Regions from separate parts of the Homo sapiens genome. Here all the other regions are linked to region 3. The links are contacts of gene promoters, found by promoter capture Hi-C in human tissues and cell types (Jung and others, 2019). All regions are on one chromosome and are shown on one strand. Each heading gives the region's core, a stretch centred on a gene start or on the middle of the fragment in contact. The rest is flanking DNA. Distances are from core to core; before and after follow the strand shown.

Region 1 (2,737 bases), core at 208-2,707, 110 kb after region 3:
TTTAGCATCAAATTCTGCTAAAACAATCTATTAGGATTTTATTCAATCTATAGATGAATTTAAGAACCAACATATGTATAATACAAGTCTTCCAACTCATTATCAGGATCCGATTTCTTCTTAGCCTTCTCTAATTTATTGCAAAGCTTTATATTTTCTTTGTAGAGTTCTTTTCTCCAACTTATTGCTGGCTCCTTGCTATCAAAAATAGTATCTTCAAAAATTCATTTGTTGCCTCTTTACAAAAAGTACAATTGATTTCAAGTATAAATTTTTATCTAGCAAACTTGCTAAACTTATGTTAGTAATTAACTTCAAGATTCTTTTGGGTTCTGTTTTATAATCTTATCTGTGATTAAGATAAATTTTATTTTTCTTTCATATTTCTTTTTCTTGCCTAACTCAGTAGCTGAGACTTTCAGAAAAATGCTGAATAGGAGTGGCGATAGATTAGACAAATGCGTCCTAGATCTGAGTCGCTTCTTGGAAGACAGCTACTCCAAAAAGCCTATAGACCATAAGCAGACTGTGTATGAGCAAGAAATATACTTTATATGTTAAGCTCTTGAAAATGGAGTCTGTTAGTTCCTATAACATGTTCTGTCCTGACTAATATAACGGGATTAAAATAAATCTCTTCTATTCCTGGTTTGGTAAAACGTTTTTTCATACATGACTGTTGAATGCTAGCAAATGCTTTTTGGTACCTGTTGAGATGATTATGATTTTTCTTCTGCAGTCTGTTGAGGTGACAAGTCCTTTTTATTGTTTTCAGTGTTACACTTCCATTCCTGAAATAAACCCAAGCTGACCACAATATATTCTTTGTTGCTAGATTTGGAGTGTTAACATTTTGTTTAGGATTTTCACATTGATATTCATGACTGAGATTAGCTTCCTTTCTCATAGTTACTGGGCTTTAAGGTTTATAAAGCAATTTGGGAAGTACATCTTAATTTTCCAAAAGAGTTTCTGTGGAGTTAGATATTCTGTGCACATTGGTAGAACTTACCAGTGAAGTCATCTTCAATTCTTCCTTCATGTTCACCAGTTTTTCTTCCTAACGAAATGAATATCTATTCTTTTATAACTTAAAGATTTTATTTCCATGTTCACGGTTTCCATTTCATTCTGTTTCATATCTGCCCTCTGTTTTTTCTGATCTCCAGACTCATGGAAAGTTTGCTATCCCTTCTCAAAGAATAAAGAACGTTTTTAAGGTACTTTGCAGAATGCTTTATCAGGTTGCATCACATGAATTCTCATCTGTTGTGCCTTTCAGGTGTTTCTTACTGGATTTCCTATTAAGCTTTTATAATTTTTATGTGAAATCATCTTATGTGTTTTCATGGTTTCTCTAGCCTGTCTATGAGGGGTGCACAGTGTTGAATGGGTCTGAAACTTTTGTTGAAAATTTTGGGCTTTGTCATGCAGAGGAGGTCCATTCTGGATGCTGAGCTCCCTTGCAGTGCTGGCCAACTTTTCTTTCCCATCGCAGATGTTCTTTCCTCCTTGGCCGTAGGAGAGTATTACATTTCTGATCATATCTAGGGTTTGATGAAGGGATATTTTAGTTTTAACATTGGTCTGGTCCTAGCTCATTACTTCTTCCAGGGAGCTTAGTTCTGGTTGTGTCCCAAAGCATGCTTGTTGAAGCTAAACACAGTGGGGGCCACTCCCCATGGGCCAGAGGATTTCAGCCACTCACCATTATGTTTTTCTATTTCCAGACATGGAGATTATCTTCTTCTCAAGTGTGTTTGTGTAGATTTGATTCTTCCCACCCACATACACACACTATTTTCATGCTACTAGCCTCCCTGTGGTTGAAATGGAAAGAAGAGGGTAATCCAGTGGCTCATTCCCTCTTCTTCCCAGGGAGTATCATGTGACTTTTGTTTTAAAAACTTTGAGTCCTTTATTGGACTGAACTCATGAGAAATCTCTTATGACTAAAGTGGAGCATTAAAGTTAGGCTGAGCATTTCTCATGTCCATGATACTAGTTTTCGTGTACTATTTTACATGTACATATGTCACCTGTATTTTACATGCATCAAATTAAAAGTGAAATTACTAAAAGGCCAATATTATTACTAAAAAGAAAGATTTTCCTCCATTTTGATCTGAACTTTGTAGCAAATTTTTCCAAACCCTAAGTTTACTCCTTTGATCTAAAATTTTATTGCTAGACACTTAAAATCATGGCAGCAGGTTTAGAAATAGTAGTTGAAATACATGTAGGCAACTTAAACTTATTTAAATAGGACATGCCACTTTGACTAAGTGACAATTTTTAAATGATATTAATGCCTATGTGTGTGGATTAAGCTGTTTGTACAAGCTTGATGAAAATGTATGGCTATGATGCACACAATGAAGAATGCAATACTGGATGAGGAGTGGATCAGGGTGCCAGGCATCTTCAGCATCTCTTTGTAATTTTCCTTCCACTTGGGTTTATGATGGCTAAAAAGTTGTTTTGCTGATACTTAACAAAATAAGATATTTTGCCACTTTTCCACCTCTGACTGGAGAAGCTAGAATTTGAGGTACCTGAAAGTGGTTCTCAGAAAATCCCAATGGATTTGATTGAATATTCACTCATCCACCAGTTATTTTCTGAGTTTCTGGGACATGTGAAACCTTGAGCTTGATTTTGGGAATTCAGTGATAGCCCAACAGGATTCTTATTTTCAGGAGCCTGCAGTCTTGGTGGAGAGGCAGATAATAATCAG
Region 2 (2,700 bases), core at 106-2,605, 92 kb after region 3:
TCTTTGTCCCAGATGCCTCGCTGCTTTCCCTGAAAGGGTCACTGTGTCCTTCTGTCACATCTGAGGAATTCCATCCTAAGGAAGTAAAAAACCAATCTGTGGGAGTTCTAATGCCTCTAAGGTCTCTCATGGAGTATGCAAAACATACACAAATGTGATCTCTGCCTTTGTCCGAAGCATTTTTCCGAAACAATGAATGGACAGTTAAGAATTAAGCGTGTTATTACTAAGAAAACATGACTTGTTTTGACAATCATTAAACTTTGGGGTAAATGGGAGTTGAATCGCAAAGCACCATAGGCGTTGAGATCATCGTGGTTGCTTGAGAGCAGTGACGTGCTTCAGGCAGAAATCTACAGTTCGGACATTCGAGCATCGCGATTTCTCTTGGTAGATTTCTAACTGAGGCCTAGCTCAGGCATTTCCCCCAGTGGAGCAGCTCACTTCCACCTTCACCTTTTCCTCCCAAAAACTGCTAGAGGGAGGATAGCTTATCCCAAGGCCACCCCTAGCAGTCGTCCACTTGGCTCTGGAACGTTTCTCTGGCAACAACTCAAGTACTTCTTATGTTTCAGTCTGAGGGTTTGCTGGGAACATGAGGTATTTTATCATCCACCAAGAAATGTTCCTTTGGGAGAAATGAGAGGCAGAGTCCCTGCAAGCTCTAGGTGGGTAGCCATCTAGGCTTTTGAGAGGTCAAAGAGGCTCCTTGTCATCTTTAGTTCCCCTGGTTTTCCAGCAAAGCTTTAGCATATGAGAGATGATCCAGGAACACCTAGTAATTATGCAGAATGGCTGACCAGTGGGGAATGCTGGCCAACCTAAGAGTTATCCACCTGGACCACATTCTTTTTCAGGCTCACTTGGCATGATGCCTCTGCCATAAAGCCCTTCTCCTGGTAGGGTGAGATGCCCCCTTTATTCTGTGCTACACCCCAGCTAGTTCATGCCTTATTCCAACCATCGACCCACCTGTTCTCTATAAGGATAAAACTTGTCATCTTCCTCTTGTTATCGCTGTGACTGGCTTTCAGCAAATAGAGGAAAGATCCGGCTTTGGTGTTCTTAAAGACTTTAGCTGTTCCCTAAAACATGTTGTAGAAGATGTTTTATCAAAAAGATCAAAGTTCATATCACTGCCAGACTCCTTCCTTCTCCATTTCTCCCTGCTGTGCCTCCTAGGGGGAGCAGCCTCTGTTAGGGCAGAACCACCAGCTCCTGTGTAACAGATGACACTCCTTCTGTGGGCACTTTTCCCAGCCTTTGCAATCAAGTCAGGCCAGAACATGCTCTCATGAGGGCATTGCTTTAATCTTCAGGCATGATGAACACGGTGTAGGTGGCAGTGACTGGACACTGAGCTCCCGTCTCCAGTTTGAGGTGGGCCTGGAGCTGCCGGATCCCCTACTGATCACTGGATAAGATGGGCATCTTGCCCCATTTTGACCCTACCTATCAAGCATCTTAGCAATAGCTGACCAAGAACAAATGATACATTTTAAGAGACTTGGCATTTGTTTATTAAAGTACATTTACTGCTAAGCCAACAAAACTAGACAGTGTACATTTCAGGTTTTGAGAAGCAGACATCCTGGTCTAATGTATCTCAAAATTATCCATCTGAAGAGTTGTCCAAATTGGACATTGAAACAAATGCCTATTGAAGCAATCACATACCATGGAAATTTCCTTCTTTACTAAATCTCCCATATCTGCTTGTTTAATTCACGTTTTTCTGTTACAGAAGTAGATGATCAGCTCTCCTTTTAAATACAGGTGACTGTAGCCACTTACTTAGTATGTTGGCTTATATCAAGGGAGTAGTAATTTGACTTTATTATATCTGATCAGTAACATGGACTATAGAGAGGGCCAGTTTGAGACCCTCATCTGCTTTTTTTTCCTGGATAGGTATCTCTGTTCTATGTGTCCTCCTACCCCTAGCCCTGTGAAAATGGAAGATGATGCAGCCTAATGGTTAAGAACTCAGGTGTGAAGTCAGACAGACTTGGGATCAGACTCCAGCTTCACATGCACAGGCTCTGCACCCTTGGACAACTGGCCAAACCTCTGTGTCTTGTCTTGAACCTATGAAGAGGGTAGCATGCTGCTTCCTGGCTCTCTCCATAACTGTTTTGGCCTTATGTGACCCTCCGTCAGCGAAGCTCTTATGGGGTGAAGAGGGGCCCTCCTTAGATAAGTTTTCCAGTTTCTTCTGCCTACTTTCTCCATTGGATCCTTCCTTATTTGCCTGCATAAGAGGAGATAAAGTACCAGAGAGAAACAACAGATACCTTTTCCAACTTCTCATTTTTTAAAAAAAGTAGAAGATTCTATCAGTGGTCACATGTATTTTGTGTCAGGCTTCCCACTTCATTTTTACAACAGCACTACAAAGGCATCCCTTTTGGATATGGAAACAGAGTCATCGAGAGGTTGAGGACCTTTCGGCCTGAGGAGGTCAGGACAGAGCTTCAGATGTCCACCTCCAACACTTGGCACTTCCTCAGATCTCCTTCCTAGCTGCTTTGTATCTTCCTCTTCTAATGTACTTGCCTGGTCTCCAGTATTTTAAAAAGGATAAGAGGTACTGTTTCTCCTAAAATAAAATTGGTGTGTCTCTTTATAGAAAGATAAGGGAAGGTTTTCTGGGGTGGGAGAAAGAAAGAGCAACAACTTTGTAGTAGGAAGATAATGCTA
Region 3 (2,793 bases), core at 176-2,675:
AACATGGTGAAACTCTGTCTCTACTAAAAATACAAAAATTAGCCGGGTGTGGAAGCATGCATCTGTAATCCCTGCTACTTGGGGTGCTGAGGCAGAAGAATCTCTTGAACCCGGCAGGCGGAGGTTGCAGTGAGCCAAGATCGAGACACTGCACTCCAGCCTGGGCGACAGAGTGAGACTCCGTCTCAAAAAAAAAAAAAAGTCAATGTGTATGTGATATGTGTGGTAATTCTCAGTTGACCAGCATATTCTGTATATCAAAATATGTGCTTACCTAACCAATTTACACACCGGTCACTTGTGAACAAGCCACCTTTTTACCTCGTTGTCCTGTGAGATGCAGAACCACGCATATTTTAGAGCTTAGGCATTAGAACTTTTCCTTTTTCAACTTATTTCTGGGCCACATCCACGTCCCCAGTTTCTCTGGAAAAGGCTGAGAAAACTCCTAAAGCGCAACAAAGTGTTAAGTTGCTGACACACGAATTACAATTAGGGTCACCGTCAAGGGAGCCGATTTACGGCCCCCCTCCTCCGTTTTCTTGTTACCTATCAACGCGGCTGCATACACTAGCAGGTAGCAGCACCTGTAATTAATTTGCCCCCACGTGTCTCATTTGATGGGGGGGGGCGTTTCCAGCTCTGATGTGCGCGGCGTGGAAACAGTATTAAAGCCGCTCAGGACAAGGAGATGTAAGGCTCCCAGAAAGACCTCCTTACTTGTTCCGAACTCGAGTTATGAAGAAGACAGCGCATGGTTTATTGACCAATGAAACAACCAGAGAACTTTCTTCTAAAGGTTTTAAGGAAGAGTGATTACACTATATAAATAGCGCTATTTCAGGTTTGAACAATTTGAGAGGCCCGTTGTAGCCTTTCAACTCCTCCTTCCTCACATAATCTAAGAGAAAAGAAGACTAAGATAGTTGCAAATCTCAGGGTAGGTCCTCACGGAGGAAAGACGAACACTGGCCTGACCCTGGGCTTTAGAAACCCATGGACAACAGGAAGGAAGCTTATTAACCCCTCTCTTCCCCCTCCCTCTTCTCCCCGGTGGAGAATCAGCTCCTCCTCCTCCCGGTCGTGAGACCCTGGTGCAAAATGCAAACAACCGCCCGCTTTCCCCACCCTGCGCGCTTCTCCCAGAGGAGGGAGAGGGAAGAGGCGAGGGCGCAGCCCCAAGCCGAGTCCAGCAAGTCTGTCAATCGGACGTGAACGTCCCGACGAGACAACTTGAACCTCAGGGCCCTCGCGCCAGCCGGACACCGCAGGTACCCCCTTTACCTGCTTCTCTGCTGGGTTTGCATCCGATACCCCAACTCCTAGCCTCATTTTCCCCCCAGCCCCATAATATTCCGGACCCCTGCTCCCCGTGCAGGTGGTGCAAACGCCCCTGCTCTCCGGCGCCCCCTGCCGGGAAGAGGGAAGGCGGCGGCGGCCGCGGAGGAGCAGGACGCTTGGTCCGGACGGAGCTCGGCGCTGGGAAGAAGCCGGGAGCTTCCCTGATGGTGCCGCCGCCTCCGAGCCGGGGAGGAGCTGCCAGGGGCCAGCTGGGCAGGAGCCTGGGTCCGCTGCTGCTGCTCCTGGCGTTGGGACACACGTGGACCTACAGAGAGGAGCCGGAGGACGGCGACAGGTAAGCGCTGCAAGCCCCAGCGGAGGGCGAGCTCCTGCTTGATGCGCGCCCGGCTCGCGGGGTGCGGGCGGTCCTCCCCGGCGCCCACTCCCACAGCGATCCGCACGCCCTCACTTCTCCGGGGATAAGGAGAGTGCTCAGCTGTCCTGGGCGACACTTCCCTCCGCTCCCGGGTATCAGCCTTTGCGCCCTGCCATCCGTGGGTCGCGTCAGGGATACCCTTCGCCCCGCGTTCCTGCCTCCCCCCGGGTGCCACACTGGCTGGCACAGCTCGTGAACCCCGCTTCCTTTCTCCTGGAGCTGGTTCGCTTCGTCGTGACCCTCGCGTGGCTCGTCCCTGTGGCCGGAGTCTGCCCCGCGTACGCGTTTGGGGACCAGCCCCTGCCCAGAGCGCCGGGACGGGGAGCCTGGCGATCCCCACGCGCCAGGGATTCCCCAGCGCGCGCTGCCCGCCTCCGCTCTCCCGCTGAGAATCGAACATTTCCTCTGCACTTTTTCATAGAGAAATCTGCTCAGAGAGCAAAATCGCGACGACTAAATACCCGTGTCTGAAGTCTTCAGGCGAGCTCACCACATGCTACAGGTAAGCCTGGGGGCTCTGCGGGCTGTTCGCCACTGCGCACCGGGGCTGGCTGGGGAGGCGGCGCTGTAAAGGAGGGGTTTGGAGACGCGCTTGGGACCGGAGCAGCTTTTACGCTGGAACCTGCTGGGTGCGTGCCGCGCGGTGCGAATCTTTGAGGGTTGGTTGGATCGGAGTCAGAGCAACACTGAGCAACTGACTTTGCGTCTAGGGTGTGTGCCCTGAGATCCTGAGGATGGTTGCCGCTCCCTGAAATACTTGTGTGGAAGTCTGTGAAGGAGATTGGATTGGATTTTGGGTGTAAACAGTGGGGCATAGCAAACACGGGTGGCTGCTTTCGTATTTGTGTTTTGTTTTGAAAGTACAGCGTCAACAAGGCAATTCTTGGCACTTGTCTGTCTTCTGACCTTCTGTTGGGGCAGAGTGTGGCTGTCACGGCCTCTGGACAAAAAAGTAGGGGGAGGATTGTGAGTGGTTGTGTTGAGTGAAAACAAAAAGATTGTTGGGGCAGAGGAAAAAAGTCTTTCTAAAAATGTGGGCCACAGATTCACCTGGGTATTTGTTAAATGAGTGACCC
Region 4 (2,700 bases), core at 182-2,681, 82 kb before region 3:
CTGCCTCAGTCTCCCAAGTAGCAGGGACTACAGGCGTGAACCACTACGCCCAGATAATTTTTTTTGTATTTTTCGTAGAGACAGGGTTTCAGCATGTTGGCCAGGATGTTCTTGATCTCTTGACCTCATGATCCACCAGCCTCAGCCTCCCAAAGTGCTGGGATTACAGGCGTGAGCCACCGCACCTGGCCACAAAATGTTGTTATAGTTTAGGTTTTCCTGTTATGCTTAGAAAGGACTTTCCTTTTCTGAGGTTGTAAAACAAAACTATTGTGTAGTTTATTGGAGTACTTTCTTGGATAAGCTTTTCAACTTAAATATTTGATCAGTCTGGAATTTGTAGTGTTGTCACTTTATTTCTCATGTGCTGAATTGTTCTGACATCATTCATTCAATAATGTACCTTTTCCCCATTTAAAATGCCGCTTTTACTAAACTCTAAATTCTTTTGTCTTTTGGGTGGCAGTATAGGTTTGTTTTCCATCCCTGTTGATTTACAGAGATGAGAAGATTTTTTTTGTAAGGTAGACTTTTAATAACTGCTTTTATTACCAGGTTAAGTCATGCAGTTACAAAGTAGTTAGAATTCTGAAAGGGCATTACAGGTTTTTTTTAAGCTCATTTTTGCATATATTATTATTTAGCATTTGACTGGGACACTACTGTTCAAAAGGACCTGGCCAAATAATTCCCAAACAAAACATTCAACCCAAGGTTGTTTTCAACCCACTGTTTGTGCACCTGGGTGCAGAATGCAAAGCCTCTAAAAGAAGAGGACACAAAGTCAGGCTGAGTAGAGGCCATTAGCAAGGGATGTTCAGGGCCAGCCAATCTCCAAACAGGGAACCCACTTTTTTTTTTTTTTTCTGGAACATTCTATTTGAATTATTGTTCAATTAGTCAACCATAGACCTTCAAAAGAGAACAATTTGTTAACATGATAAGGAGGTTACTGCATTCTTTGGACTATGTGTCATAATTATAGTCAGCAAACTCCGACCGTCTTCACAGAAATAGCCCTCCAGCATTTTTGTAGGTATGAAGATAATTTAATTCTCCATAGGGCTTCTTATTTTTGCTGGATAACAATACATGGCTGATAAGCTCTAAATGGTACTGTTTTATGATATAAAAATACTAGCTTTTTAAATTTATTATGTTTGTAGGCATTCACTGCTTGAATCAAGGTTAGGCTTGTTAAGAGATTAAAAGCAATTTTATTACAGCAGCATTACTTATTTTTTTCCAGAAGAATAAAATTAATAAGCAGAAACAGCTTTTATTTTTGTTTGCATCCTGTAAAATTGAGTTATTTTGCTTCAATAACTCATGTGAGGACCATGCCACCTTCTTTTTTTTTTTTGAGACGGAGTCTTGCTCTGTCGCCCAGGCTGGAGTGCAGTGGCGCGATCTCGGCTCACTGCAAGCTCCGCCTCCCAGGTTCTGGGAATTCTCCTGCCTCAGCCTCCCCGAGTAGCTGGGACTACAGGCACCCGCCACACGCCCGGCTAATTTTTTGTTTTTTAAGTACAGATGGGGTTTCACCTTGTTAGCCAGGATGGTCTCAATCTCCTGACCTTATGATCCGCCCGCCTCGGCCTCCCAAAGTGCTGGGATTACAGGCGTGAGTCACTGCGCCCGGCCCCCATGTCACCTTCTGAATATGTGAAAAGTTACAGCACTTCCCAGTCTCGTCCAGAGCAAAGAAGTAAGCATCTGATTGCTCTTGACTGTGCCTTCCCTGGCAACAGTTGCTGACTGTGTTGGGAAGAGCCACAGAGCAAGGCTGCACAGCCAGATGGAAGAGACTTTTCATTTAGAGGCAACACACCTACATGTCTCTCTCTCTGGTGTCAGTGATTTCTACTTTCACCGTCATCAGAGTGTACATGATCCCCTAACCTTAATTACTTTCTTCTTAGGGAGCTGATTTGGATCGATTTGTTAAGAATAGTGTCCATTATCTAATGAGTCAAGAGAGAAGGGGATTTCTGTGGTAACATGTAAACCTGTGGTAGGTCTGCAGAAGTTACAGGTGAAGAGGGTAGCAAGGAAGTCACCCATGAGCCATCTACGTGAAGGTCACTCTGGCTTCATTGTATACTTTGAACACTTTCTCAATGGCGTTGACATAGACGGTGGTCCTCATGTCCAATCCCAGGTTATACCTCATGGCTATGCACAAAATTTGCCTGGCAGAACTCTCCATTGCGTACACCAAGTCAGCATGCATGGTGTCTTTCTCTGATGCACCTGATATCCTGTCTTGGAACTCTGCTGTGGGTATAATGAGAATAGTTCCACTGTGCTTTCCAAATTTTCTTGCTAAATTCTCTTGAACAGATATTAGCAAGTGGTAGTTACACTCCCTTTCATATTTGAAGGTCAAACAGCCATAGCTGACATGATTTAGATTCTTCAGCCACTCAAAGTTGGATGCTGTCTCTCCTTTGGCATTCATGTAGAGATCTGGAATAACCATAATGCTCCTGACTTCATTTCCTCCCTGTCACACACACTCCTAGTTCTCCCATCTTAAAAACTCCGTCTCTGGACCTCACTTTGCCTCCTGCCTCTGCCAACTTCTCTCATTTTTTTTTCCATTAAGAAACCTTCTTGAAACAGTTGTTCATACGCACTGTTTTCACTTTTCCTCCTTCCATTCTTTCCTGAACCCACACACACTGGGCTTTGCACTCA
Region 5 (2,700 bases), core at 103-2,602, 70 kb after region 3:
TGAGTGTTTTAAAAGTGGTACTAATAGGACTTGCTAATTTGGGGTGAGGACAGAAGTCAAGGATGGCTCTGAGTTTTTGGTTATAGCTAGGCAGGTTGGTGGCCTAGAAAGCAGATTTGGGGAGCTCAGTAGTTCAGCATGGATTTTGTTCCACTTGAGAGGAAGGACTGGCACTTGGACATACAGGTCTGGGTCCTCGGGTGAGGAGCTGACTTGAATGAAGAAGCCCTTTCCCAAGGCTACTTGATTGTCTCAGGTTAGATTAGAAGGCCTGATCCCAGGTTTTGGAACGTGTTCTATCCCGTCATATCTTATGACTCCCATCCATCCCACGAAGCCATGGACATCGCGGTGGTTACAGGGAATGTCCATGGCAGCCCTGTTGGTCTGGAGCATGAATTGGACTATTGACATGATCAGGTAAAAAGCTGCCATCTTTAGGCTGGAAGAGCATTAAGATAGATTTTTTCCATCACCTCATGTCTCTTGGAGTAGGGGCAGTAAGACTGGAAGAGAAAAGTTAGGAAAAAATACCATTTTGTCCCAAGAGAATCCAATATAAGAAAAAGCATATTCTCCTTATTATTTTTAATGAAAAATAGTAGCTTCCACTTAGTGGATCCTTGTGTAATATTTACTAATTAAAAATAAAGAATATCCAAAAAGATGGAAGTCTGAATCTGGATTTCTTTTTTGAGGCTGGATATCACTCTGTTGCCCAGGCTGGAGTGCAGTGGCACGATCAAAATTCACTGCAGTCTCAGCTTGCCCCCAGGCTCAGGTGATTCTCCCACCTCAGCCTCCCGAGTAGCTGGGACTACAGGCATGCACCACCACACTCGGATAATTTTTTGTATTTTTTGTAGAGACGGGGTGTCGTTATGTTGCCCAGGCTGGTCTTGAACTCTTGGGCTCAAGCGATCTGCCCACCTTGGCCTCCCAAAGTACCCGGATTGTGGGCGTGAGCCACTGCACCTGGCAGAATCTGGCACTTAAAAATCCACTTTGAGTATGGTTTTCAATATGCCTGTATAAGCTTCCTAGGTTTGCTGTAACAAACTTAAGGCAACAAATTGTGTCTTAAAAAAACAGAAATGTATCCTCATAGTTCTGAAGGTTAGAAGACAGAATCAAGGTGTCTGTGGGGCCAAGTTTCCTCTGAAGGCACTAGGGGAGCATATCCTTGCTGCTTCCAGCGTCTGGGGGTTGCTGACAAGCTTTGGCGTTCCTTGACTTACAGCTGCTCACTCCAGTCTCTGCCTCTTCTGTCACATGGAATTCTTTCTGGGTTTCTATGAGTGTCCAGATTTCCTCCTTATGACACTATTCATTGGATTAGGTCCCGCTCTAAGCCAGTGTGACCTCATCTTAACTTGACGGCATCTGCAGAGACCATATTTCCAAATAAGAAATAACACCTATTTCTCCGGTACCAGGAAGTAGGACTTGGATATGTCTTTTTGGGGGACACAGTATTATCCACTCTGATACTGAAAGAAAAGAATGAGGTGTAAAAGGTGGTATAAACTAAGGAAGTATACTGCTTTGGCAAAATAACTCAGTTAAAATCGTTTTAGTAATTCATATTTCTTTCTCCTTTTGTAAAAATTTAGACTACATTACACAAATTTTGTCTTCTAATTTTTGACATTTCAAATGAGATTATATTCTGTATAATTACTCAGAATACGGACAATATGGTGTATATATCACTAGGAAACTAAGCAGGATTAACATGAGAGGGAGTGACTGGAATTTGCAGTATCTTCACAGTATACCCCATGAATTGCTGAACTGATGAATGATGGATTGTTTTATATTTTTATGAAATGAAGAGTATTCAAAAGAGTAGTGATAAGGAAACTGAGCTCTAGAACAGGATCATCAACTAAATCAACATGAACTAGTTGATCTCTACAACAGGATGGACACACAATCCCAAGACCATGGGCACAGTTGGGAAGCTTGTGGAGAGGCTGAAGACATGGTGACTAAGAGCACAAGTTCAGGACCAGGATAGTCCAAACCCAAGCTCTGCTGTGGAATCAAGGGCTCAACCCTTAACCCCTCCAGGCCTTGATTTTCCTGTCTGCAGAATGGGAACACTGTTCTTATCTCACAGGGCTCTTTGAGGATGTGATAAGTAAATTCCCATAGAGGTGGCATAGCATAGTAGATGAGAATGGATTCTGGAGTCAGAGGGCCACAAGGCCAGTCTTGGCCTTACCACTTGCTAGCTTTATGGCCTTGGGCCAGGTGATAAGCCTCTCTGGGCCTCAATTGCTTCCTCTGTAAAATAAGGATGATGCTAATACTCATTGTTAAGATTAAATGAGGTAAATGAGCTAACACTTGGGAAATTCTTAGAGCAGTGCCTGGCACAGAGTAAGTGGTATTTGAGTATTTTCCATATTGAAGTGTGGAATCAGTGCCAGGGCTACATAAGCCTGATAAGTGTTCATTGCTCCTGTCATGTTTATAATCTCCTCACCCTCCTGCCCCTGAAAATACCCCCATGTCAGCTGCCTTTTCCACATTTATCTGGATACTGAAAAATGCACGTAAAGGGACATTTCACCTTAAGGAAAGCTTGGACTTTCAAAACAGATGCATTGCGAGGTGGTTTACTTTACCAAAGGATTTACTGTGGGGTTCCATAAATAAACGAGTACTTTAAGGTGGAACTTTATTTACAAAACC

Evidence for each region. Contacts are between HindIII fragments. The study calls those that stand out against the background at their distance.
Region 1: a fragment that was not itself captured here is called in contact with the fragment with the promoter of CCBE1 in region 3 in 4 of the 25 tissues and cell types used here (adrenal gland, hippocampus, mesendoderm cells and 1 more).
Region 2: a contact is called between a fragment that was not itself captured here and the fragment with the promoter of CCBE1 in region 3, in 2 of the 25 tissues and cell types used here (IMR-90 fibroblasts and lymphoblastoid cells).
Region 4: a fragment that was not itself captured here is called in contact with the fragment with the promoter of CCBE1 in region 3 in 2 of the 25 tissues and cell types used here (H1 embryonic stem cells and IMR-90 fibroblasts).
Region 5: a contact is called between a fragment that was not itself captured here and the fragment with the promoter of CCBE1 in region 3, in 3 of the 25 tissues and cell types used here (H1 embryonic stem cells, IMR-90 fibroblasts and lymphoblastoid cells).

What each region holds. Positions count from the first base shown.
Region 1 is chr18:59,585,374-59,588,110 of GRCh38, reverse strand. All of the region lies in intron 2 of CCBE1 (collagen and calcium binding EGF domains 1), which reads left to right. Among named protein-coding and RNA genes, the nearest start is that of CCBE1, 110 kb to the left of the region's middle. The HindIII fragment of the contact is 3,937 bases long and covers 1-2,737 here.
Region 2 is chr18:59,603,641-59,606,340 of GRCh38, reverse strand. The region is part of intron 2 of CCBE1 (collagen and calcium binding EGF domains 1); the gene reads left to right. Among named protein-coding and RNA genes, the nearest start is that of CCBE1, 92 kb to the left of the region's middle. The HindIII fragment of the contact is 6,151 bases long and covers 1-2,700 here.
Region 3 is chr18:59,696,055-59,698,847 of GRCh38, reverse strand. It overlaps CCBE1 (collagen and calcium binding EGF domains 1), which reads left to right and starts at 1,425. Exons shown (of 11, transcript NM_133459.4): 1 at 1,425-1,636; 2 at 2,139-2,219. The coding sequence starts at 1,506. The HindIII fragment of the contact is 11,314 bases long and covers 1-2,793 here.
Region 4 is chr18:59,778,364-59,781,063 of GRCh38, reverse strand. It overlaps the pseudogene GLUD1P4. Among named protein-coding and RNA genes, the nearest start is that of CCBE1, 82 kb to the right of the region's middle. The HindIII fragment of the contact is 3,410 bases long and covers 1-2,700 here.
Region 5 is chr18:59,626,212-59,628,911 of GRCh38, reverse strand. All of the region lies in intron 2 of CCBE1 (collagen and calcium binding EGF domains 1), which reads left to right. Among named protein-coding and RNA genes, the nearest start is that of CCBE1, 70 kb to the left of the region's middle. The HindIII fragment of the contact is 3,769 bases long and covers 1-2,700 here.